Linked DNA regions of Homo sapiens: regions 2, 3, 4, 5, 6 and 7 are each linked to region 1. The links are contacts of gene promoters, found by promoter capture Hi-C in blood cells and fetal thymus (Javierre and others, 2016). All regions are on one chromosome and are shown on one strand. Each heading gives the region's core, a stretch centred on a gene start or on the middle of the fragment in contact. The rest is flanking DNA. Distances are from core to core; before and after follow the strand shown.

What was found. Contacts are between HindIII fragments. The CHiCAGO score rates a contact against its expected background, and 5 or more counts as called.
Region 2: a contact is called between a fragment that was not itself captured here and the fragment with the promoter of ECRG4 in region 1, in 5 of 17 cell types (naive CD8 T cells, activated CD4 T cells, total CD4 T cells and 2 more). The highest score is 8.7, in naive CD8 T cells.
Region 3: a contact is called between a fragment that was not itself captured here and the fragment with the promoter of ECRG4 in region 1, in 11 of 17 cell types (total CD4 T cells, naive CD4 T cells, total B cells and 8 more). The highest score is 12.1, in total CD4 T cells.
Region 4: a contact is called between a fragment that was not itself captured here and the fragment with the promoter of ECRG4 in region 1, in 4 of 17 cell types (naive CD4 T cells, total B cells, naive B cells and 1 more). The highest score is 7.0, in naive CD4 T cells.
Region 5: a fragment that was not itself captured here is called in contact with the fragment with the promoter of ECRG4 in region 1 in 4 of 17 cell types (neutrophils, naive CD4 T cells, total B cells and 1 more); the score reaches 8.3 in neutrophils.
Region 6: a fragment that was not itself captured here is called in contact with the fragment with the promoter of ECRG4 in region 1 in 1 of 17 cell types (monocytes); the score reaches 6.4 in monocytes.
Region 7: a fragment that was not itself captured here is called in contact with the fragment with the promoter of ECRG4 in region 1 in 11 of 17 cell types (non-activated CD4 T cells, activated CD4 T cells, total B cells and 8 more); the score reaches 12.5 in non-activated CD4 T cells.

Annotation. Positions count from the first base shown.
Region 1 is chr2:106,063,904-106,067,277 of GRCh38, reverse strand. It overlaps ECRG4 (ECRG4 augurin precursor), which reads right to left and starts at 1,590. Exons shown (of 4, transcript NM_032411.3): 1 at 1,435-1,590. The coding sequence starts at 1,513. The HindIII fragment of the contact is 9,592 bases long and covers 667-3,374 here.
Region 2 is chr2:105,338,061-105,341,434 of GRCh38, reverse strand. It overlaps C2orf49 (chromosome 2 open reading frame 49), which reads right to left. Exons shown (of 4, transcript NM_024093.3): 2 at 1,686-1,852. Among named protein-coding and RNA genes, the nearest start is that of C2orf49, 2.2 kb to the right of the region's middle. The HindIII fragment of the contact is 1,249 bases long and covers 1,204-2,452 here.
Region 3 is chr2:105,361,034-105,364,407 of GRCh38, reverse strand. It overlaps FHL2 (four and a half LIM domains 2), which reads left to right. Exons shown (of 7, transcript NM_001318895.3): 6 at 937-1,123; 7 at 2,974-3,374. The coding sequence ends at 3,125. It also overlaps a transcript of C2orf49 not described here. Among named protein-coding and RNA genes, the nearest start is that of C2orf49, 25 kb to the right of the region's middle. The HindIII fragment of the contact is 1,121 bases long and covers 1,167-2,287 here.
Region 4 is chr2:105,380,407-105,383,780 of GRCh38, reverse strand. All of the region lies in intron 3 of FHL2 (four and a half LIM domains 2), which reads left to right. It also overlaps a transcript of C2orf49 not described here. Among named protein-coding and RNA genes, the nearest start is that of FHL2, 17 kb to the left of the region's middle. The HindIII fragment of the contact is 4,389 bases long and covers 1-3,374 here.
Region 5 is chr2:105,517,451-105,520,824 of GRCh38, reverse strand. The region is part of intron 1 of LOC105375311 (a long non-coding RNA gene); the gene reads right to left. Among named protein-coding and RNA genes, the nearest start is that of LINC02946, 91 kb to the left of the region's middle. The HindIII fragment of the contact is 4,918 bases long and covers 1-3,374 here.
Region 6 is chr2:106,585,956-106,589,329 of GRCh38, reverse strand. No RefSeq gene overlaps it. Among named protein-coding and RNA genes, the nearest start is that of CD8B2, 100 kb to the right of the region's middle. The HindIII fragment of the contact is 4,259 bases long and covers 1-3,374 here.
Region 7 is chr2:105,550,628-105,554,001 of GRCh38, reverse strand. No RefSeq gene overlaps it. Among named protein-coding and RNA genes, the nearest start is that of LINC02946, 58 kb to the left of the region's middle. The HindIII fragment of the contact is 368 bases long and covers 1,696-2,063 here.

The DNA of each region.
Region 1 (3,374 bases), core at 341-2,840:
TCTTGTTACCCAGGCTGGAGTGCAATGGCACGATCTCAGCTCGCCGCAATCTCCTCCTCCCAGATTCAAGCAATTCTCCTGCCTCAGCCTCCCGAGTAGCTGGGATTACAGGAACGTGCCATCACGTCTGGCATTTTTAGTAGAGACGGGGTTTCTCCATGTTGGTCAGGCTGGTCTCGAACCCCCGACCTCAGGTGATCTGCCCCCCCCCCCCCCCCGGCCTCCCAAAGTGCTGGGATTACAGGTATGAACCACCAAGGCCGGCCCAGATGTGCTTCTTAAAGTGGCAAGAACAAAGAGTGGGAGGCAGGTAAACCATACAACGGGAAATGACTGATTAGCTTCGCCTGTGATTCTAAGGTGGAACAATAATCCTCCCCACCTGAACAGACCTCACCACGCCTCCTGCTGTTTTAGCAACCCCGGGGCTCCATCCCAGGGCTCCTACTGAATGTCCCCTGCCTCTTCTCACCTCGAGTTCAGTTTCCATACCTGTTTCGAATGAGCAAAATACAGAAACTGAGCAACCGAGTGAGCCTCCCTTTTACATTAGGCAGTGCCCAGCTGCTTTGCAGTGGGACAGCGCCAGTCTCAGGCTCTTGGGCAAGTCACTTCATACACCAGTAACTCTGAGGTAACAATCCCTGCCTCCCCTAGTTGTAAGCTTCAAAGGCAGTCATGTGTCCTTGAGGCCACTTGTGAACCATAAATGTTCCTCCTACCCAGTGAAGGTGGTAACTCAGGACAAACCACGGCTTCAGATTATGGTTCCTAAAGTGGGGCCTGTGGAGCCCAGCGATCAGATATCGGAGCACCCATCATTCTGGGTGTGCGTGTGAATGCACGTTTTACAGAGAGCGAGCAGAGAATTTCAGAGTTTTCAACCGATTCGCTGGGAGCTCCACGAAGCAGGAAAGATTAAGCATTACTCCTTTAAGAGCCTTTCCCCTCTCTGGGGTGTGAGGCCTGTGCCCAGCTTTGCAAATTGCAACTTGACCCAGCTGGGAAGCGCAAGTCAACTTGGTTGCTAAGCGACTGCCTGGAAGGGAATGGCGGTGATGGTGCCATTTGCCTCCTCTGGGTTACCAGCTGCGTAAAGCCCCCACAACCCTTTTGCCCCTTACGTTAAGCCACGAAACACTACTTGCCCACCCTTCGGACGCCTGGCCCTCCTTGCCCAAGGTTGCCCGGGAGATCTGAGACCCTCCCCTTGACCCCGGTACTCTCTCCACCCTCACAAGGGCACCACTTCGCACTTGTGCGAGTGCAAAACCCCAGACCCGGTCCTCTACCACCCCTTGGCCCTGCCTAGGCTAAGGATGGGTCCCTACGCCGCCACCCCATCACCGATCGCTCTCCCCGGGCACCATGGAAGCGCCACATGGGGCCAACCCCTGGTGCCGCTATCAATCAGCCTGGCATCGCCCCGCTCACCTGGGCCCCAGCACAGGAGCAGGAGCAGCGCCAGCCCGGTCAGGGCCAGGACAGCAGGCCGCGCGGGGGAGGCAGCCATGGCGGCGGGGCGCGAGCAGGAGGGCGAGGGGCGCACTTCGAGGTGCTGCGAGGGAGAACCGGGCGCGGGAGAGGGGTGCGAGCGGGCAGGCGCGGCCGCGGGTTATCCCTGCGTCGCTGCCGGGGCGGGACCCAGCGGGTGGGCGCCGCGCCAGAGGGCTGAGGGCCAAGCGGCTGCGCCCAGCGCACGGGCGAGTACCACCGAGGTCCTCTCTCCCGCCCCGGCCCCAAGGGGAACGCAGCCCCTGGGCTCCAAGGCCAAGGATGCTTGGCCACGGAGAACCGCCGGCGGCGGGGGCCGCGTGGCCAGCGCTGCCCGCAGCGAAAGCGGTTAGGACAAGCTGGGTTCCGGAGACCCAAGGAAGGGCAGAAGGCATCGGGAGAAGGGACGAGGCCCCCTGGCCACTCAGAGGGAGGACTTGCCGGATCCCAGCGCTGGGGTGTCTCCTTGGCTCCCCCACTTCCTCCGCCCGCCCCAGCCGCGCCACTGTTCCCCTTACTCCTCACCCCTTTCTTCCCTATCTCCCTCCCTCCCTGCTTGGGGGCCTTGCTTCTGCCTGGTTTGTAAAGTGGGCTTTGGAATTTCCTTAGTTCAGAGCTGCTCTTAAGGATGCCTTAGGCGGGGCTGTTTTTGAGATAGTTTGAAAGATTCCACAGTCTGGGTTCAGAGCTGCAGTCCGGGAAATCGTCTCACCCAAACTTCTCCAATAGAAAAGCCTTTGAGAAACCAGGAACCTGGTGCCCTGCAGCTGTGAGCAAAACCACTGCTTCCCTTTGCCCGCTCTGTAATCTGGGCACACTTCAGCGAGCGATGTTAAGGTGAGACCCAAGGGAAACGCAGAACTGCATCCCAGTAACTGGCCTGTTCAACTGTAGAGGACACGTGAAAGGAGGCGTAGTGAACAAAAACTAGAACAACTTTATCCCAACGGACTCTGAGCGGGTCACCTAATTATTCTCTCCAGGCCTGGGCTACAAAAGGATGGAGATGTGAGATTACCTTTCCTGTCTTCCCATCTCAGATCTGCCCTGAACTGAGCTGATTACCTCTTTCCTTCACCAAGGTTCTCACTTATTTTCCCCTCCCTGAGACGGAGTTTCACTCTTGTTGCCCAGGCTGGAGTGCAGTGATGGGATCTCAGTCACTGCAACCTCCAACTCCGGGGTTCAAGCGATTCTCCTGCCTCAGCCTCCTGAGTAGCTGGGATTACAAGGCATGTGCCACGAGGCCCAGCTAATTTTGTATTTTTAGTAGAGAAGGGATTTTACCATGTTGGCCAGGCTGGTCTTGAACTCCTGAACTCAAATGATTCACCCGCATCGGCCTCCCAAAGTGTTAGGATTACAGGTGTGAGCCACCACACCGGCCAGTATTTTTATACCCTCCAGTGGTAAGCACTTACTGTCTCTCCATATAATTAGCTCTCCATGCAATGCAGTTGAATTTCTCCAGCAGGAAGGAGAAAGAAGTCTTCTAACATTGAGCTAGTAAAGACAGATGGTGGCCAACCAAAGAAAAAAGTGCAAAGTGGGTCTGAGTTAGATCATGATACTGCCCAGGGTGTCAGAGAGAATCAGAAGGATAATGTTACACATCTAGCTATCTTGGGGAAGTGCTTCTAAACCCTTGAGGAAACTGTAGAATAGGGGATAGGAGTTTTAAAAGTAACCAGGCATATATTTACTTTTGCCTGAGGACAAGAAATTTATCATTAGAAAGAAAAATCAAAGCACATAAAAAGCCAATATTCTGTTTGGATTGGTTTAGAACATACATTAAACATAATGGCTGTAATCTTATTTATCCTGTGGAGATCATCCCCCTTACCCCAAATTGCTACCAATATCTACTTCTAATATGA
Region 2 (3,374 bases), core at 579-3,078, 730 kb after region 1:
AGTTCCTCCACAGATAAAATAATAAGTAGTTCAACAATACAAGATGATCTCTTGGATCCTTCCAGTTTTAATGCTCTGATTCAATTGTGTATTTAAAAAATAGAGTCAAAGATCCTTTCCAAAATGATTTTGGGGGACTAATCAAGACAGTTGTACAAAGATTGCTTCAAAGGAAAGTATGACTGGCACATAAAGTTTTGCTTACTAGAACAATATGCCTGAATGTGCTGATCAAGAGGAAAATACTGGCTGAATAACAGCAAAAGTAAATTAAAAGCCATATGCAGTGTAACCCATATTTATGAAAGTTAACACCACTACATAGTCTGTACTAGTAAGTAAAGTAACCATCAAGCTAAAATGGTCAATCTAAAATGCATTCTTGATCAAAGGTCAGACTGTGTGTGTATTTTCCAAAAGACAATGAGCAGACATGTATTCTTCGACTATTCTTCATAATTGGAGAATAATCTCAATCATTAAATTTTTCTTTGTAAAACAGAGATTAAAACTCAGAGGAACATACTCCCCTTTACCCCTACCCTCCTACTCTGTCTTCTCTCACTGCTTCTAGTGGATTGCCTATGACGGTGCCTTACAAATAGAAGGCCCTAAAAAAAAATTAATTGATCAATAGTATCCACTTGAGATATAATAGACACAGAAGAGTTCACTTAAGGATCTTAGGACACTTTGTACTTATTAACCAATCAACAACACTGATTAATCAAATGTAATTTTCTTTAAAAAAGAAAAAATCACTTGCTTGTGGTTTTATAAAACTGTTTTTGAAATTAAATAATTTTAAATAGCATAACTTAAGCTAGTTAACAGGCCCTTCATTTGTGTATTATTCAAAGACCTTAGAGTTTTACCTGACTTGACTTTTTCCTCAAAATTCAGGAAATCCTATTGGCTCTATCTTCAAAATACATGCATGCTCCAACCCACCAAATTTACTATTGTAGTCAAAGCTGCTGCCATCTATTGCCTGGATTACAGTACAGGCTTCTAATTTGTTTCCCTGCTTCCAGTCTTATACACACCGCTTCCCCTCCCCACACACCTTAAATCACTTCTTAGGACAGCAGCCAGAGTCATCTTGTCAAAATGTACATCTAATGATGTCACCACTCTGCTTAAAACCTTCTAGTGGCTTCTCATCTGAGTACAGCCAAAGTCCTTACAATGACTTACAAAGCTTTACATGATCTGACAATCTCTCCCGTTTGCCCCCAGTACAACTCGTTCTTCCTACTTCTCCATCCAGCCCTGATAGCTGCTTTGTTGTTCCTGGTATATGATGGGCACATTCCAGATCCAGCCTCTTGTATTCTGCCTGGAATCCTAGCTTGTTTTCTTCTTCCTACAGGTCTCTCTACTAAAATGTCATTTTTCACTAAGATCTTCCTGGATAATTTACCAAAAATTGTAATCTTTCTCCCTGGCCTTTATTACTATATAACAATACCATATTTTAACTGTTGTTATGTTTCTCCCATCAAAAATATGAGCAGGGAATTTTGTCAGTTTTATTCACTGCTATACGCACAGTGCCTGGTGCTCAATAGATAGTCATTGAGTAAATAAATTTTTTACTTAAGTTTATCTCAGGAAAAATCAATAACTTATATATAACTTTAGTTATATAAGATAAATTGAAAGCTAGAACCACCAAAAAGTACCTTTTAGTCTCATTTTTAATCTCATGTTGTTCTCTTTTCTTTTCCATCATTTTCCCCCATCTATTCTTCGGCAAATCCCTCTGAGGCAATGGTATTGCATGTTGGACATAAAGGTCAGTAAGACTGTCTTTGTTTACTCTTACATCAGTTTCAACAGCTATGTTCTTCTGCGGGAAAGGAAACAAAAGTAATTTCAAAACAATGTTTTTAATTTTAACAAGTAACCACCTTACCTAACATGGTAAAACATTACTGCTTAAATAACAAATTATAAAAAGCCATTTTCACAATAACACGCGCACTTAGAGACAGTGTTAAAGGTTAAATTCTGTAGATACTAGGTTCAGCCTCATCTTAAAAACAATGGTCATATTTTCTCAGTGTGACAGGGATTGCTGTCCACAACTGCTCAGCCAACACACCAAGCATGAAAGATCATTTCCAGTAAAATTATCTTAATATACAAAGGGGATTGAAAATGGGAGACTGCCTGTTGACAAAAGAAAGCTAACAATGATTAACAATCACCACATTCTGTCAATAAGCTACCTTGAGTGTTACTATCATGATCAGATTAGTGGGATGAAGGTCTCAGTCTGTCTTATATTTCTCGTGCTTCTCTAATCTGGTGCTTCCTAAATTGAAGTTAACTACCAAGATTTCAAATAATACCACAAATAGAAACTGTTATTCCCGTACTGACGACAGTAGCAGTACATCATTAGAAAAGCCTGCACCCCATTTTCACTGGTCCTTTCAAGTAAGCTTCCAGTCATTGTCCAACCATCTCTATCTAAATCACCAAATTCTTCCTCATTTTCCAATTTGTTCTTGACATCATGAAAAACATAGCATAAGCACAGGAGTAGTCATGAAGACAGAGTTTGGATTTAAGAAGGAGAAATGAGAATGGAAATGAGATCACAGGCTCTTCAATTTCAACTCAGAAAGGCTTGAAAACATTTGTGTTTAGTACCACCGACAAGCCTATATCCTCTAACAAAAACTAATAAAAGCACATTTTACTTCTCTTTCGTATATTAGACTCATCTATTTTTAGCCCGTACTCGCTCAGAAGTAGGGGAAACTACCAGGATTCTCTTGGACAACGTTCCCAGAGAATTCATAAGCCCATTACTTTGGAAAGTATTGCCTTAGGACAGTGGTGGTCAAAGCATGCTTTCTGGGCCAGCAACAAGCTCGTTAAAAATGCAAGATTTCGGGCCACATTCCGGAACTACTGAACGAGAAACTGAGGACGGAGCCCAACAATCTGTGTTTTAGCAAGTCCCTCGACTCATTCTTAAGTACCTAAAAAGTTTGAGAACCACAGGTAAAAACTTACTGACATAATTAAGCTCTACGTGGCAAGAGGACCTGAAATTCAACAAAGATAGGGTACTAAGGGGAAAGCCATATGAAAAACAACAAAATACGCTACATAAACCCCAAGGAAACTTCCAGTAATTCTCTATCACTTAAAACATCACTTTTTTCCTTTCTCACTTTTCTCCTATTATCAGAGGCCACACCAGCTGGAAAAGAGCACGCACTACATGGAGAGCCAGGAGCCCTGAATTCTCCTCCCGGAAGTACCATTTACAGATGTTGTGACCTTAAACAAGTCACTTCATCTCTCTGGAACTGTTTTTATCATCTTTAAACGATTAGAAGGTGTGGAATGGACGG
Region 3 (3,374 bases), core at 478-2,977, 700 kb after region 1:
CTCTTCTTGTGGCATCAGCAGGTGCTAGTCCCGGCTGTCCTTTAAGCCTCTTCCTTCTTTCACCGTAAGTGGCTGGAGAGACAGGCTCGTGAGTGGCATTGGAGAGGTTACCACTTGCCAGGGTTTTTGTTTTGTTTTGTTTTGTTTTGTTTTTGAGACAGTCTCACTCTGTTGTCCAGGCTGGTGTGCAGTGGCATGATCTTGGCTCACTGCAACCTCTGTTTCCAGGGTTCAAGCGATTCTCCTGCCTTAGCCTCCTGAGTAGCTGGGAATACAGGTGCACCACCACACTCAGCTAATTTTTTGTATTTTTAGTAGAGATGGGGTTTCGCCATGTTGGCCAGGCTGGTCTCGAACTCCTGACCTCAAGTGATCCACCTGCCTCGGCCTCCCAAAGTCCTGAGATTACAGGTGTGAGCCACCAGCCCTGCCAGGCTTCTAAGTAAGGACTCCTCATCAACTTGCCCAATTAACCTCATCACCCTCACTTCCTGGATGAGAAAACTGAAGTGCAGAGATCTTTATCATGACCTGCTCCCAGCCACAGGGCTGGTAAGGAGTAGGGTTAGGATTCAAACCCAGGTCTCCTTGATGCTGTATTGAATCCCGACCCCTCCACTGTGCTGCTTCCCTGCTCAGAAAGGTGGCAACACCACTGAGGCACCCTATGCCTTAGATCCCCAGCATCCCTGGGAAGGGCTGAGGGCAACCCCAAGCTCCAGTTTCACTAACGGGAAAGCCAGGGCCTATGACACTGGAATGAAAGCGTGTGGTGAGGGTGACGAGTGACTGTGAAGTTTGTAAAGCAGCTTCTTGGTGACTTAACAAACTGGACGTTTCTGGATGAGGATCTTGCATCGTCCAGTGGCAGTAGCTGAGACTGAAGATGTCTGCCAAGCACAGAGGCCACACTAACTCTCCCCCTCGTCCCTGCAGCCCATCACCACGGGAGGGGTCACTTACCGGGAGCAGCCCTGGCACAAGGAGTGCTTCGTGTGCACCGCCTGCAGGAAGCAGCTGTCTGGGCAGCGCTTCACAGCTCGCGATGACTTTGCCTACTGCCTGAACTGCTTCTGTGACTTGTATGCCAAGAAGTGTGCTGGGTGCACCAACCCCATCAGCGGTGAGTGTCCCGGGGTTCCCATTTCCAGGGGCGATTGGAAGCTTGAACAAGGCCTAGCATTTTAGCCTGTGACCCTGTCTATATCCCTCAACTCCCCAGACCTCCCTAAGGCTCTGAACACAGCAGACTTTTCTGCCTATCTGCTTTCCTCTCCTTGGTGCACTGGCTATGCTTCAGCAAGTAATGATTCCTTCCTCTGCAGCCCACCTGATCACAACCATATGGCCAGTGCTCCAGTTTAGTTTCTGCTTTGGGTTGGATTATCGCTAAAACTGCAGTCTGTGAGCCTGTGACATCACAAAAGCACAATAAAAACTGGCCTTTTCAGGCTTAGCAGCTGTGCTGTGTTCTTAGAAGTGTCCCCTAGCATCTTAGTGGGACGGTTGTACTCCAAAACATCTTAATGGGAAACTTCTACCACAAGGCCATAGCTATATGAGGGCAGAGGGTACATTCTAAGGAGTTTTTCATATTGTATTCCCCCAAAGAATTCAGCTAAGTGAGAGCCCAAAATCTGGCTGGCTGGCAGACCAGGCTTCTGGACTAGACTATTAAGCAGGCTGGAGAAATTCAGTGTGGAGAACAGAGGAGTTCACACTAAAGTCCTTTAAATGGTCACCACATATCGCTACACAAATGAGTGACTGGGTGGGGAGAGAAAAGTGTGTGTTCTGTAATAACACAGGAGAAGTTTTATGATGTGGGATTTGCAATCCCGTTGCATTCAGTTGACTGGTTCGTTCCTATCAGAGGAAGGTGGCAGACACTTGGAGTACCCGGTGGCCTGGCTTTCCTGTGTGGCTTTTCAGTGTAACTACAGAAACACATCTATACACCCCCTGTGTACTTGTCCTTGACTTTCCTTTCCCTTAGGCCTAGAACCAAGTTCACCTAACTCAGCTAACTCACCTTCCCAGGTCGCTAAAACAGTACTCTCATGTGTAATGCAGAGCTCATTACATTTCCATGTGAAATTAAAATATGAAGAAAAGCACAGTATTTACACTTTACCTATGTTAAAATATCTGTTTCTGGTCATTTATATACCAGATTTCCCTTGGAATCTTTTAGGGGGAAAATGTAATCTTTTGCCAGAACATATTCATCTTTAATGCTGTTTTCAGCAGTAACTTCTGTTGAGGTAAATGTTTATAACATTAAGCTTTATAAAGTGATACAATCTATATAAAAGCACTTTTAAATGTAAAACATTAGATATGAATGTGAATTGTGGTTATTGTGGCACTGAGAAAAAACACTAGGTAAAAACCAACTGTATTATAATCACGGACCAATGTACCTTAAATATTTGATTCCATTCTATCTGTCTGCAGCTTTCTCAGGATCTTCCCACTGCGACAATATCCCTCTCCCCTCATTCCCACCCACATCGCACTTTATCTGTGAGGCCTTTCCTGGCCATCCCAGGGAGGATTAACCTTTTCCTCTTCTACACTCCCTTCACTGCTTCAATCATTAAGTCATAAAAATTTGAGCACCAGGCAACGTGAGGCACCTAGTGAAGACATAAGAGAAATCTGCTCCCTCTTCTCATGGAGTTTCATTTTGTGGGAAAACACATAACAAATACACAGTCAGCATTCTTTGATCGCACTTATCCCATCGTTTTGGAACCAGTTTATATATCTCTTCTGATATTCACGAGATCCTCCAGGCTGTGCATAGAATCTGATTTACATATGGATTCCCAACACCCAGTCACTAGAAATTCACATTATCCATATTACACAATCCAAACTTTGAAATGGATCAAACCAGAATTCCTTCTTCAGTCCCAGTTGCCTGATTCTAACTTTCTTCATCCGGTATTATTTTCTCTCTGTTAACAGGACTTGGTGGCACAAAATACATCTCCTTTGAGGAACGGCAGTGGCATAACGACTGCTTTAACTGTAAGAAGTGCTCCCTCTCACTGGTGGGGCGTGGCTTCCTCACAGAGAGGGACGACATCCTGTGCCCCGACTGTGGGAAAGACATCTGAATTCAACACAGAGAAGTTGCTGCTTGTGATCTCACACACAGATTTTTATGTTTTCTTTCTCACCCAGGCAATCTTGCCTTCTGGTTTCTTCCAGCCACATTGAGACTTTCTTCTAGTGCTTTTCAGTGATACTCACGTTTGCTTAAACCCTTTAGTGCTTTGTGATAGTTCAGTCCCAGGGAAAGAGAAAACTCGCCCTAGGCCCTAGGTGGGAAGATGGTTTGAAATTTTTGTAATCGAGTAAGGCAC
Region 4 (3,374 bases), core at 498-2,997, 680 kb after region 1:
TAGTTGGGTTTGTAGTGGAAGCAATGATAGAAAAAAATGTTCCTGTTTTTTTCTGGAAGTAAAGCCCACAATCCTGGCAGGCGGGGAGATACCTGATAGAGGAACTGTGCTCTTAGGTCTGGTGGCCAATCTCTTCTCTTAAAATAGCACAGCCACCACAGGCCTCAGCTACTTCCCTCTAAAGGACATGTTCATGTGTGTGAGTTTTAAATGTTGGCATGCCTATGGGAATTAGGCTAATTTTGAGAGTCCTGACCTACTTAAATGAGACAGGCAAGACTTCAGAGCCTGTTATATAGTTTGAACATCCTCTCTATGTAGCCACTGAATTGTAATCTTTATTTCTATTAAGTTACTCTGGGAAAATGCTGTGATCTCAAAGGGTAAAGATTATTGATTTGTATGGCCAGTGTAATAGTGGAGAATAGACAATGCTAATACAATTTTATGATCCTCTGACATTACATGCTTCCTGAACCTTTTCTTGGATACCTGTTAGCATTAACAAAATATTTTCGTAGACTGATTACAGAGTTTTTGGGGGATCTGCCTACGTTCTGGGCTTCAAAAATTCAACCAACTAAAGAAAAAATAGGGCTGGGCACAGTGGCCCACGCCTGTAATTCCAGCACTTTGGGAGGCCGAGGCAGGTGGAACACTTGAGGCCAGGAGCTGGAGACCAGCCTGGCCAACATGGCGAAACCCCGTCTCTACTAAAAATACAAAAATAAGCTGGGTGTGGTGGCGTGCACCTGTAATCCCAGCTACTTGGGAGGCTGAGGCAGGAGAATCATTTGAACCTGGAAGGTAGAGGTTGCAGTGAGCCAAGATTGCGCCACTGTACTCCAGCCTGGGTGACAGAGCAAGACTCCATCTTAAAAAAATAAAAATAAAAAATAGGCTGGCCAATAACTCCAGAGACAGCTGCTAATACTGTGCATTTAACAAATTGGTGATTTTAAGCCCTGGGCGACACACGTAACCTAGACTTTGAATGTTCCATGGGTCTGCAAGCAATGCCATGAAATTGGACTGGCCACCATACCCACCCATGTGCTTGGAGGGTGCTACAAAGAGAAAAAAAAAATAATAAACAAGAACAAAAGATCTGCAGATCAGAAACTAGCATTCAGGGTTTAGTTTCTAGTGGTAGTCTTTGAAACCACTGTGTATTGCCTGATGACTTGTTCCAGGCACTTGTAAATGCCTAAACTGCATGATCTAAATTTCTCCTAACACCCTATAGGTAGGAACTTTTTTCATTCCATTTTATGGAGTAGCCGCTGAGGCCTAGAGAGGATGAGGATCTTGCCAAGGGTTAAAGGGATTAGGAAGTATCCGAGGTACAATTTGAGCCCAGACCCGGAGGGTCCTCACCTAGCATGTGATGCCACCTGCTACCTGCAGCCTCGGGCAGGACCCTGTCTATGTGACTCTCGGGCCAGATGTGGTCAGTCCTTATGAGTAAGAGATGGTGACCACCTGGCCTCAATCAAGTGACCTTCAGTCAGAGGCCCCTACTCTTCTCATGGGCCCCTTTAGATGGTGATGATTACATTGCAGAATTGAGGCTCAAGTTGTTTCACAAACTCTCTTTCCAGCTTTTGTAGCTAATAGGAAACATTGAAGTGATGATCAAATTGGCTGTAAAAGTCTCAGTTAATGTTTGGTAATGGACAGAAATGTTCAGTGATATTTTGGCAGAAAGCAACCTGGCAGGGCTCTGAAATAGGAGACGAAGGTTTTCACACATACAGGTTAAATCTAGATGCCCCTAGTATATTTTGGAAGGTTTCTGACCAAGCCTAGTGAAAGGTGTAAGGTCAGGTTTGAAAAACCCACCCTTCTGTCCTCGGTGTAACACAGGCCTCCCTCGCTGGTCTTTCTGGACCCTTTTCTGGGAAGAGCACCTACTCCAGTCACATTCTCAGGGTCCAGCCTGCCAACCTGGTGCTTTTTTATTTGTTGGGGTGGTTTTTAAGTTCTCAATGAGCAAATTACCTTCTTGGATCTTCTTCCGTGTAGAATTTGTCCACAGAGTTTGTAACGAGCACTGAAAACGCGTATTTATTTGGATTTCCTCCTAAAAGACAAAAATCTGTCTGTGAAGGGAATTTAATCAAGCAGGGTCCTAGGATCAGAAGCAAAGCTGTCTGGATGGATTTCATGAGAAGGGCCTGTCAGTGCACGAACTTGGCCTGTCAGTGCATAAAACCAAAAGTTCAGCCACAAGACATAGCAGCAGAGGTGCACAGCGCTCAGCAGTGACCTCGCATGCACCGAGGCTGGACCCCGGAACCAAATCTCCCTGGCTCCACCTTTGACAAGCTGCGCGAAGGGGACAAGTCCTGCCACCTATAAGCCTCCGTTTCCATGTCTATACACTGGGGTTCCTAGCTCACGGGACTGTCGGGGTAATTGAGTGAGTTAACGTCTAGGGAGCACCTGTGACATGCCAACACAGTGCTGTCATTTCTGCTGTTGTCCATTTTTCTGCATCTTTATTTGTAAGGATTTGAAAGAATGTACAGTTGGAAACCTGATGATCTCAAGCAGAAAATATCTTTTCATAACGCTGAGCATGAATGACATGAGAATCCATGTCTGAAGTGAAATCGTATGGATCTGAAGAATGGTTGGTGCCAGCCCTGGTGGAATGGGGTGCGAAGGAGGGAGGATGAGAGCCAGACGTTTCAGTCTGGGTGACCCTGCCACCCAGAGCCACCTTCCATTAACTGAGGGGTCCAGGGCTCCCTCCAGGCCACTTGCCACTAAAGCTCAGCTAAAGTCTCAAAAAGGACACATTCGGAGCCAAGCAACAGGCACAGCCCATGTTAGGAATGTTTCTGCAATGGAAAAATACAAAACCAGAAAGGAAGTGTGTGGGCCTAATCGTACATGTTTATCAACATTTTACTGCAATGTATGACATTTCTGTGAGCACAAGATTAGCCTTGGTATTTTTTTCTGGGAAGTATAAAAGACTTTTTTTTTCTTTCTTTTTGTTTTCAATTTCTCTCTAGAGGAATTTAAAACCGGATATTTCCATCTTAAAGTTCTTGAGCAAGTCTGTCAAGGTGTCCATATTTCTTACCCTGTTCCTCTCAGCATCGAAGTGCTATCTCTGTTACACTCATGTTTGCTGTTCACAATGGAGTACTAATGAAATAGCAAAATTAAGCTACCGGCATGGTGCTAATAACTGAAACTAAAAATCGGTTTGGAGCTTTTCTGTTTGGAAAGAGTCACTTGAGCCGGGCGTGGTGGCTCATGCCTGTAATTCCAGCACTTTGGGAGGCTGAGGCAGGAGGATCACTTAAGGCCAAGAGTTTGAGACCAGCCTGGGCAATATAGCAAGACCCCTGTCTCTAAAC
Region 5 (3,374 bases), core at 501-3,000, 550 kb after region 1:
ATGCTAATTATCATAAGATAGACCTCTCTCGTTCTCACAACAAATAACTGTACAGAAGATGCAAATGTCCATGTACCTTATACTTCCACGCAAATTGCAGAATTTATCCCTAAATTTTAAAAGTGTAAGTATGGCTACATTTTGGAACCGTGGAATGTCTTAGTTCATATGTCCTACATTGCCCATTATACTATTTGTGAACTTGCCTTAGCATTAATCTCAAATATAAACTGCTTGGAACTTAGAGGTTAATGTTGCTCTCCTGGTCCCCCTGAGGTGCCCAGCTGTATTATGGCATAGATACCTGACACAGCTGTGGCAAGAATGAGTGCACAAATGGATAGGGTAAGAGAATAGGGGATATCGGTTTGTTGCATTATAGATTCCAGAAATACTTAAATTTCATCACACATACTTAACCGTTCTGTTCTTACTTATCCCATATCCTAGATGAGGCCATTTGAACCCAGAGGTCCATGCCTGGCACATGGTCAGAACTAAATATATGTTAATGCCCTTCTGGTCTCTTTTTTTCCTAAAGACTAGATGACTCTGTGACTAGAACCCTTGAGAACACTCAAAGTCAGAGGATATAAATAAGCATATAGTAATGTGTGTCTACATTACTAAAAAACAACTGAAAATCTAATCTCACCCAAACTGAAACCAATTTGGCTAAAACAAGTAAGAAATATCTTGAAGGGGCAGCGCTCCCTGCTAGTTGTTCCAGTGCAAGTTCTTGATTGTCAGTTAGAAATAAAAAATTTTAAGCTGGGTATGGTGCTCATACCTGTAATCCCAGTGCTTTGGGAGGCTGAGGTTGGAGGATTGCTTGAGGTCAGCCTGGGCAACATAGCAAGACCCCATCTCTTAAAAAAAATTTATTTTTAAGTCAGCCAGGTGTGATGGTGCATGCCAGCTCCTCAGAGGTCAAGGCAGAGGGTCACTTCAGCCCAGAAATTTGAGGCTACAGTGAGCTATGATCATGCCACTGTACTCTAGCTCTAGTAGAGCAAGACTCTGTCCCCCCAAGAATTTTTATTTAAAGACAAACTGAAGTTTAGTAATAGCCTATGGTTTGAGTGCATGATATCTTCCAGTAAGTGGCGGTGTGGGGTTTAGCATCCTTCTTTTCTGTGATATTTAAACTAATTTATTCTTTGTATTTAATAAATGTTGAGTAACTACTTTGTCCAGAAAGTTTTTTATAGATACGGAAGAAAGGGAACCTGCGGTCTGTGAAGGGCAAAAGGCTAAATTGGGCTTCCATTTGTGCTATTTTCATGTATTAATTTAATATTTACTGAGTATAATAATAGTAGTCAATCTTTATTAGCTTTTACTTACTGTGAGCCAAACATTATTCTAAGCACCTCATCTATATTAACTAATTTAATTTTTATAAAAACCTTAGGAACAAAATGCTACTTTTAGCTGATTGTGCAAATGAGGATCCTGAGCACAGAGTTGAAGGGCCTGCCCAGAGCCACCCAGGCAGCAGGTGGCTGAGACAGCCCTGCCTGCATGGAGTTCAGCACTTACAGATTCCCAGGCTTGCAGAGGTCCAATAAATACTGGTTAGGAGCTCCTAGCATACATGCAAACTGATCAATGATAGCGCTATGCAGTGGAGAATGAACACCATGCCAAGAGGGCCCAGATGAGGGAGCAAGTGTGTCTCCCCAGGGGATGAGGCAGACCTTCCCCAGAGAGGTCACACTTACACAAGGCGTTAGAGGAGAAGCATGGTCCCTGGAAGATGCAGCAGCACACGTGCACAGACACAAGTGTGGGCTGCCTGGGAGCTGTCAAGGGGGTCAAATAGCCTGTGTGCATTGATGGGTGTTGGGGGCTGAGCTGGAGCTGCGGCCCCCGGTGTGTGAAGGGTTCCCCTCCTGGCCTAGGCTAAGGGTTCGGCATTCATCTTGCAGAGCCAAGGATGAGTTTAGCAGGGAATTAACTCCACCTGACTTTGGTGTGGATGACAAAGTGCAGTGCGGTGGGAAATGAGCTAATGTGGAGGACATCTGGGTCTTTGGACTCCTGGGGAAGCAGATCAGGGAGGCCAGATGTAGGCCTGACTCTGTCCATCAGCTGAGTGGCCTTCGTGAGAGGTGACTTCCTTGGTTGTGACCTGGGGATTAACAAACCAAACTCCCAAGTTTGTTGGGAGGATTGGATGAGGACAGTGCTTGCTCAGCACCTCTTATAAAGGAAACGCTCATCAACATTGGAGCTGGTCCCAGCCATGGACCCTTCCTAGCCCTGCCCCACCCCGCCTGCAGACCATGGCAGTCAGGCAGTGATGATACCGAGACAGACATCACTGAACACCTAGGCTGAGCCCCTGGCCGGCCAGCACCCCGGGAAGCAGGTCCAATGCAGGTGCAAACATGTTTCCTGTGAGGACTATGGTCCAGAGAGGCCAGGCCACCTCACCAGGTCACACATGTGTCATCAGGGGGCTGGGGTTCAAACCCAGTTCTGTTTGGCTGATTCTAAATCCCCACTGGCCCTCTCTATGCAAGTACATATAATACCTCTTGAGAGCCCATCAGTGCAGAAGGGATTCTGACTCTCTTTTCCCTCACATGCCTGCTTGGGACACATGGGCATGGCAGGACAAGAGGACCCCATCTAGAGCCGAAACTGCAGCCTCTGGGTGCACTCTTGTTGGTAAGTGTTCTGGGCATGCTGCCTATGGAGCCATGGCCTCCAAGCCTTTAGATGTCACCAGCTGGAAGCGGCTAACAGCAAGTCCCCTGGGACGTTCTCAAACCCACAGGCATTCTGCAAAGGGCAAGGGGTCAGTATAGAAGGCAGCATGGCAAGGGCTGAAAACCTGGCTGGGAGCCCCAGGCACTGGTCCCACATGCTCCTGGTCCTCTGGCCAGCCAAGTCCCTGGGTGCCTGCCAGAGTTCTGTAGCACAAATACCAGGGAGCTGGGGCCTGTGCCCTCAAAGGCAGCATTAAGTTATCAGAGAAAAATATACATACATACATAATACACATATATACACGTACATATATGTACACATATACACACACACATAAATATATGTTAATAATGCAAAGTTGGATCTTAGCCCTCAAAACAGACAAGGCCTCTATTTGAAATTGCCCAGCTGAAACCCCATCTCTACTAAAAACACACAAAAAAATTAGCTGGCTGTGGTGGCGGGTGCCTGTAGTCCCAGCTACTCACTAGGGAGGCTGAGGCAGGAGAATGGCGTGAACATGGGAGGCGGAGCTTGCAGCGAGCCGAGATTGCGCCACTGCACTCCAGCCTGGGGGACAGAGCGAGACTCTGTCTCAAAAAAAAAAAAAAAAAAAAGAAAAAAATTGCCCAGCTACATTACTATCTAGAAGTCAA
Region 6 (3,374 bases), core at 582-3,081, 520 kb before region 1:
TGCTTTGTTCAAGGCTATAGTCTCAAGGCTAAAGGGGCCTAGAGGAAAATCCACACTCAATACATACATGTTGAATGAACTCGATTTCCCAGCTGGTTTTGCCGACATAGGGGAATGGTGCTGTACACATATGTACTTGTACATGTACATACATGTTGGTATTCAGCCAGCTTAGTGAATTTTATTATTAGTCATAATACTGAATTAATTCTCACGGTTTTTTTTAATATAGATGTTTACACAATAATATCAAAACATTCCTTCCTAGAAGCAATGAATCCCAGACCGACCTAGCTGTTTTGTAAACGGTAGTAATATTCAAGACTAATAGGGAGGTAGAAAAAGAAATCAGACTTTCAAACAATATTTTAAAAATATTATCCAGCCACTATAAAGAAAGGGCTTATATCAGAGCCAATTGTTGATTGGATTGCTGATTCATTTTAAACAAAATAACTTCACGAGATGGAAAAGTGGCTTTAAAAAGATTTTTGTGTATTCACTATAGATTCAATATGGTACTAATAATGCCAGCCCAGGTGAACCTCAAAAAAATAACTAATATTAGGAGAAGGGTCCTAATACTACTATTTTTTTTTTCTTTGAGACGGAGTCTCGCTCTGCCGCCCAGGCTGGAGTGCAGTTGCACGACCTCAGCTCACTGCAAGCTCCGCCTCCCAGGTTCATGCCATTCTCCTGCCTCAGCCTCCCGAGTAGACTACTTCTAATACTAGTTCTTCATCAACCACATGTCAAGATAGAAGCAATGAGAAGTTGAACGGTAACTGTCAAGGAGGAGTATGGTTATATTTCCACCATTGGTGGCAAACCTCTGCCTGTGTGACTTGCGATATCGGCTAATGCTATTATGAACCCATCAGCACTAGACACAAAGACACTAAAAGACATTGAAAGACGTGAATAAGGATGTTGAAAGACATCCTTATTTCACCTTCAGCTCATCACTTAGTACTCGTATACAAGTTATGAGTAAATATACATATTGGGGGTGCACAGTCCAAAAAGTTTCAATGTCACTGCTCCAGAGCAATGTATATTAAACTTCTGGGAATATGAACCCTATACAGAATCTGGTGAAAGCCAAAGGTGCAACCTTAAATAAATACGCATTCATGCTAACTGTCACGAGGGCTTGGTCACCTCCAGGAGGCCCACCCGCATATTTATTTCTTTATTTTTATTTATTTATGAGAAGGAATCTCACTCTGTTGCCCAGGCTGGAGTACAGTGACGCCATCTTGGCTCACTGCAACCTCCCCCTCCCAGGTTCAAGCGATTCTCCTGCCTCAGCCTGCCGAGTAGCTGGGACTACAAGGCACCCGCCACAGCGCCGCCACCACACCCGGCTAATTTTTTGTATTTTTAGTGAAGACGGGGTTTCACCGTGTTAGCTAGAATGGTCTCAATCTCCTGACCTCGTGATCCACCCGCCTCGGCCTCCCAAAGTGCTGGGATTACGGCTGTGAGCCACCGCGCCCGGCCACGACCCACATACCTTTTAAGGGTCCGTGGACTCCAAAGGTAAGAAAGAATCCGTACTCTTGTTAGAAATGTTGGCTTATACTTTGATTTAGGTTAAAGGGTGGCGAGTGCTTTCTGTTCATTCTTCTGAAGTGAACAGAAGCAATGAAAACCTAAGTCTCATATTTTAGACAAGAAACGAACATAATGGGAAGGTTCACAGGCGGCATAGGATTTCCCCACTCGCTGCGCATACCCTGGATGGGCAGCAGGGGGCAGCGGAGCACAAGAGGACCGGGACCACAGCGCCCGGAGGCTGATACCCCGCAGCTGATCCACAACACTGCAAGCTCACCCCAAAGAGGGGCAGTGTGTGAACCCAGAGGACTCTCGTCAAGTGAAATAAGACAGGCATGAAGGACAAACACCGCAGGATCTCACTCCTATCTGGAACCTTAAAAAGTTGATTTCATGGAGGTATAGAGTAAAATAGTGACCAGGCGCTGGGGAGAGCAGGGGGGAGGCAGGGAACCAGAGAAGTTGGTCATCCGGGCAAAGTCACAGTTAGGAGGAATGATTTCTGTTACACAGTAGGGTGACCATAGGAAATAATGTAGTGTATATTTCAAGATAACCAGAAGATACTCAATGTTGTCACCACAAAGAATAAACGTCTAAAGTAATGGATGTGGTAATTATTCCAATTTGATCATTGTGTGCATTGAAACATCACACTGTACCCCATACACTTGTACAATGATAATGTGTCAATTATACATTTTTTTAAAATCCCATTAACAAAAAAAAGAAAAAGGAAAGAAAAGGGACCAATTGTCCTCTGCCAAACTGAGTATTCTAGGCTTGGCTAGATCTGTATGGCCAAAGAAAAATGAGGCAAAATAATTAAACTCTCAAATGTCACCTAGAAAAACCAACAGCACACACTATCTAAACCCACGCAGTTATTACGTGGGAAGCCGAGGCACGAAAATTGCTTGAGGTCAGGAGTTCCAAACCAGCCTGGGCAACATCTACAAGCAACAATATCCCGTCTCTACAAAAATACAAAATTAGCTGAGCATGATGATACTGTAGTCCTGGCTACTCAGGAGGCTGAGGTGGGAAAATTGCTTTAACCCAGGATTTTGAGTCCGCAGTGAGCCTTGATGGCACCACTGCACTGAGCCTAAGCCACCGAGTAAGAAGACCCTCTTACATACATACATAAATGAAATACATACATACATAAATACATACATAAAATCTATTTAAAGCAATTAAAATTTCTACTGCTACTATAGTATAACACAACTAGATTCAAAACAGTCTTCTCAACAAAGCAGAGTATTTTTCAAGCAACAATTCTAAGCCACACGCTGCCGTCCCCTACTCAGTATCCACCCCTAGCCCACACAACTCGCTACCCTCGGCCCTGACTCACTCAACTACCTACCGGACCCCACTACCCACCTACACCCCGTGTAAACCCACGCACTATCTACACCGTACCCCATTCCACTCATTTAACTCCACGCTTATTAACTTACCTTCCCCAAACACATACCTGCTCACAACCTACCTCTCATTCTAAGTAACAAATATAAAATCATTGTCAAAAGCATTGACATACTTGCAGTACTCTTCCCTGCAGAAATACTATCTTTCCTTTTACTGAAATCTTTTGTGATCCTCCGGTAAATACCAGTTTTTTTATCTACGATTTTATGGCTTCTGTTGGCTTAGTCTATTTGTTGTTGTAAACAAAATATTTTCCATAACATATTCAACATTATTATTGCAGTGTAAGGAAAACAATTGACTTTTATCTACTTACTTTCTACGTTGGGACTTCTCTGAACTCTTGCTTATAAGTTCGTGAAACGATTCTCGTG
Region 7 (3,374 bases), core at 630-3,129, 510 kb after region 1:
GGCCACTATGGGGAAACCCCGCCTCTACTAAAAATAAAAAACAATTAGCCAGGCGTGGTGGCGAGTACCTGTAGTCTCAGCTACTTTTGAGGCTGAAACATGAGAATCGCTTGAACCCAGGAAGCAGAGGTTGCAGTGAGCCGAGATCACGCCACTGTACTTCAGCCTGGGTGACAGAGTGAGACTCCATCTCAGAAAGTAATAATAATAATGATAAAATAAAAATAAAAACCACATTCCTGTCATATTTCAGCTGTGAATCATAGGTACACAAACACAGGATTAGCTATGTTTTACAAGACAGCTTCTGGCAAGAAACTAACAAAACAGTTGCATTTTAGAAATGCAGAAACTTCAACTCCCTATCATGAATTACTGAGTGGTCCCTGGAATGAATTGCCTGTCCTGGTGCGGGGGAAAAATTAGCCCTTAGTTCATCTAACTGAGGAATAGGACGTTCTAAATTTTGGTATGATAGCTTCATCCCTGAAAGGTATTTTTCTTTCTTTTTAAAGCAGTTTCTGCAATTGACCAGAGCAATTCTCAGATACCAGCTATTGGAAATTCTCACATAATCTTCACAGACATGCTTTTCTCCTTTTGTTATTGCTCTGTCAATAGCATTTGGCCAGGGGAAATGAGAATTTTCCCATTTCCCACTAAACGTCGTTAGATAAAAATTTTCCCCTGTTAACAGAAATGATTTTGCCTTATAAAAAGTTCTTATTCTTCTTGGAACCGAGATGACTCTCTAAGATCTGCAACTTTTTGAAAAGTCATTTGTGGCCGGGTGTGGCAGCTCACGCCTGTAATCCCAGCACTTTGGGAGGTTGAGGCAGGCTGATCACGAGGTCAGGAGTTCCAGACCTGCCTGGCCAAAATGGTGAAACCCCATCTCTACTAAAAATACAAAAAGTAGCAGGGTGTGGTGGCGTGTGCCTGTAATCCCAGCTACTCAGGAGGCTGAGGCAGGAGAATTGCTTGAACCTGGGAAGTGGAGGTTGCAGTGAGCCGAGATCGTGCCACTGCACTCCAGCCTGAGTGATAGAGCAAGACTTCGTCTTGAAAAAAAAAGAAAAGAAAGAAAGAAAAAAAAAAGTCATTTGTTCTATGCGGACCAAGTGCGTTTATGTTTTTCTTTAGAAGAAGATGTTATTTTCAACAATTTGGTAGAAATCTATGCCCAAGTAAGATTTTAAAATTCAGACCAGAGAAAAAGCAATGATATGAGCCCATTCTGTTTTTATGATTACCTGTATCATCTTGCTACTTAAGGCACTGATCGTGTGGTAAAATTACGCAAGAAGAGAATAATAGAACGGAATGTATTTACATTTTTGTTGTTGATTTTGTCTCCTTTTAGAAAATGCTTTGAGAAAATTTTATATCATGAAACAAATTGGTAAATAATTAATTTAACAAGTTATCAGCCACCTTGACATCTAACCAACATTGATTTTGCTTTAGGTATTATCACTATGAATATCAAGGTTATCAGTAATTTGGGGCTTACCTGCTGAAAATAGTAAGCTTCTACTTTGCCATTTTTCTTTTTCTGCACAAATTGTGTTGGCTGGTTTTACAGGCAGGTGGCCTACGCAGTCACATGGGGCCCTTGGCTCAGAGGGGCCCCCCACTTGGTTTAATGCTCTGCTCCTGTCATCTTGAAATTCATAATACTTTTATTTCCAAGCTTGTGTTTTGTATGTAAAGTTTGTAGTTCTAATTTGCATTTCCCTAATGACTGGTATTGTTGAGTATCTGCTCATATGCTTAGGATTTGCTACATTTTCATTTGCTTAGGATTTGCTATCTTTTCATTTGCTTGGAACTTGCTGTCCTTGTGTCTTCTTTCGTTAAGTGTGCGTTCAGATCCTTTGCCCATTTTTTAAGAAATGGGTGGTTTCCTTACTGAGTTTTGAGTGTTCCTTATGTATTCCATATACAAGATCTTTATTAGATTTGTGACTTGCAAACATATCCTGCTAGTCTGGTTTGTCTTCATTCTCTGGGTATCTTTTTATTCTCTTTGTATTTCTGTGTATCTTTCACAGAGCAAAGCTTTTAAATTTGATCATATTATTTTTATTTTTTATTTTATTTTTATTTATTTATTTATTTTGAGAAGGAGTTTTGTTCTTTCACCCAGGCTGAAGTGCAGTGGTACGATCTCGGCTCACTATAACCACCACCCCAGCCCCCGGGTTCAAGCGAGTCTCCTGCCTCAGTCTCCCAAGTAGCTGGAATTAATAGGCACCTGCCAACATGACCAGGTAATTTTTTGTATTAGCTTTTAGTAGAGATGGGGTTTTGCCATGTTGGCCAAGCTGGTCTCGAACTCCTGACCTCAAGTGATGCACCCACCTCGGCCTCCCAAAGTTCTGGGATTACAGGCATGAGCCACTGCACCCAAACTGATCAAATTAAATTTATCTTTTGAAGTCATATCTAAAAACTCTTTGATAAACTCTAGGTTATGTAGATCTTCTCCTACATTTTCTTTTGCACTTTTTTAAGTTTTATGTTTAATATTTAGGTCATAATCCATGAGCTAATATTGAAAAAGTTCTGAGGTGTATATTAAGGTTCTCTTTTTTTAATCCTTTGCTCAAATTACTATTAGTAATTCTCCATTGAATTATCTTAACATCTTTGTCAAAAATCAATTAACTATATTGTTTGGCCTTTCCAAACAGTTCCTGTGCTTATCCATATACATTTTAGAATCAGCTTACTGAGTCTTATTGATTCAAAAGTTTACTGGGACTTTGATTATGCTGAATCTCCACATCTAATTGGATAGAATTGACATCTTAACGGTATTGTATCTTCCAATCCATGAACATGATATATTTCTCCATTTATTTAGGTCTCCTTTAATTTCTCTCTTCAGTGTTTTGTAGTTAAGCATACTGATCCTGCACATCATTTGTTAGATTTATATCTAAGTTTTTTTACTTTTGGCTTAATACAGCAGAAATTTGTTTCTTGTAGTCTGAACTCTGAGAAGTCCAAAATCAAGGTGCTAGCAAAATTTGGTTGCTAGTGAGGGCTCTCTTCCTTATACCTAAGTATTTTATTTCTTGTGATGCTTTTGTAAATATTTGTAAAATTTCAAGTTCCAATCGTTTACTGTTCACATACAGAAATATGCTTCACGGCCGGGCCCAGCCAGGCATGTGGCTCACGCCTGTAATCCCAGCACTTTGCGAGGCCAAGACAGGTGGGTCACGAGGTCAGGAGATCAAGACCATCCTGGCTAACACGGTGAAACCCCGTCCCTACTAAAAATACAAAAAAATTAGCCAGGCGTGGTGGTGGGCGCCTGTAGTCCCAGCTACTCGGGAGGCCGAGGCAGGAGAATGGCATGAAAC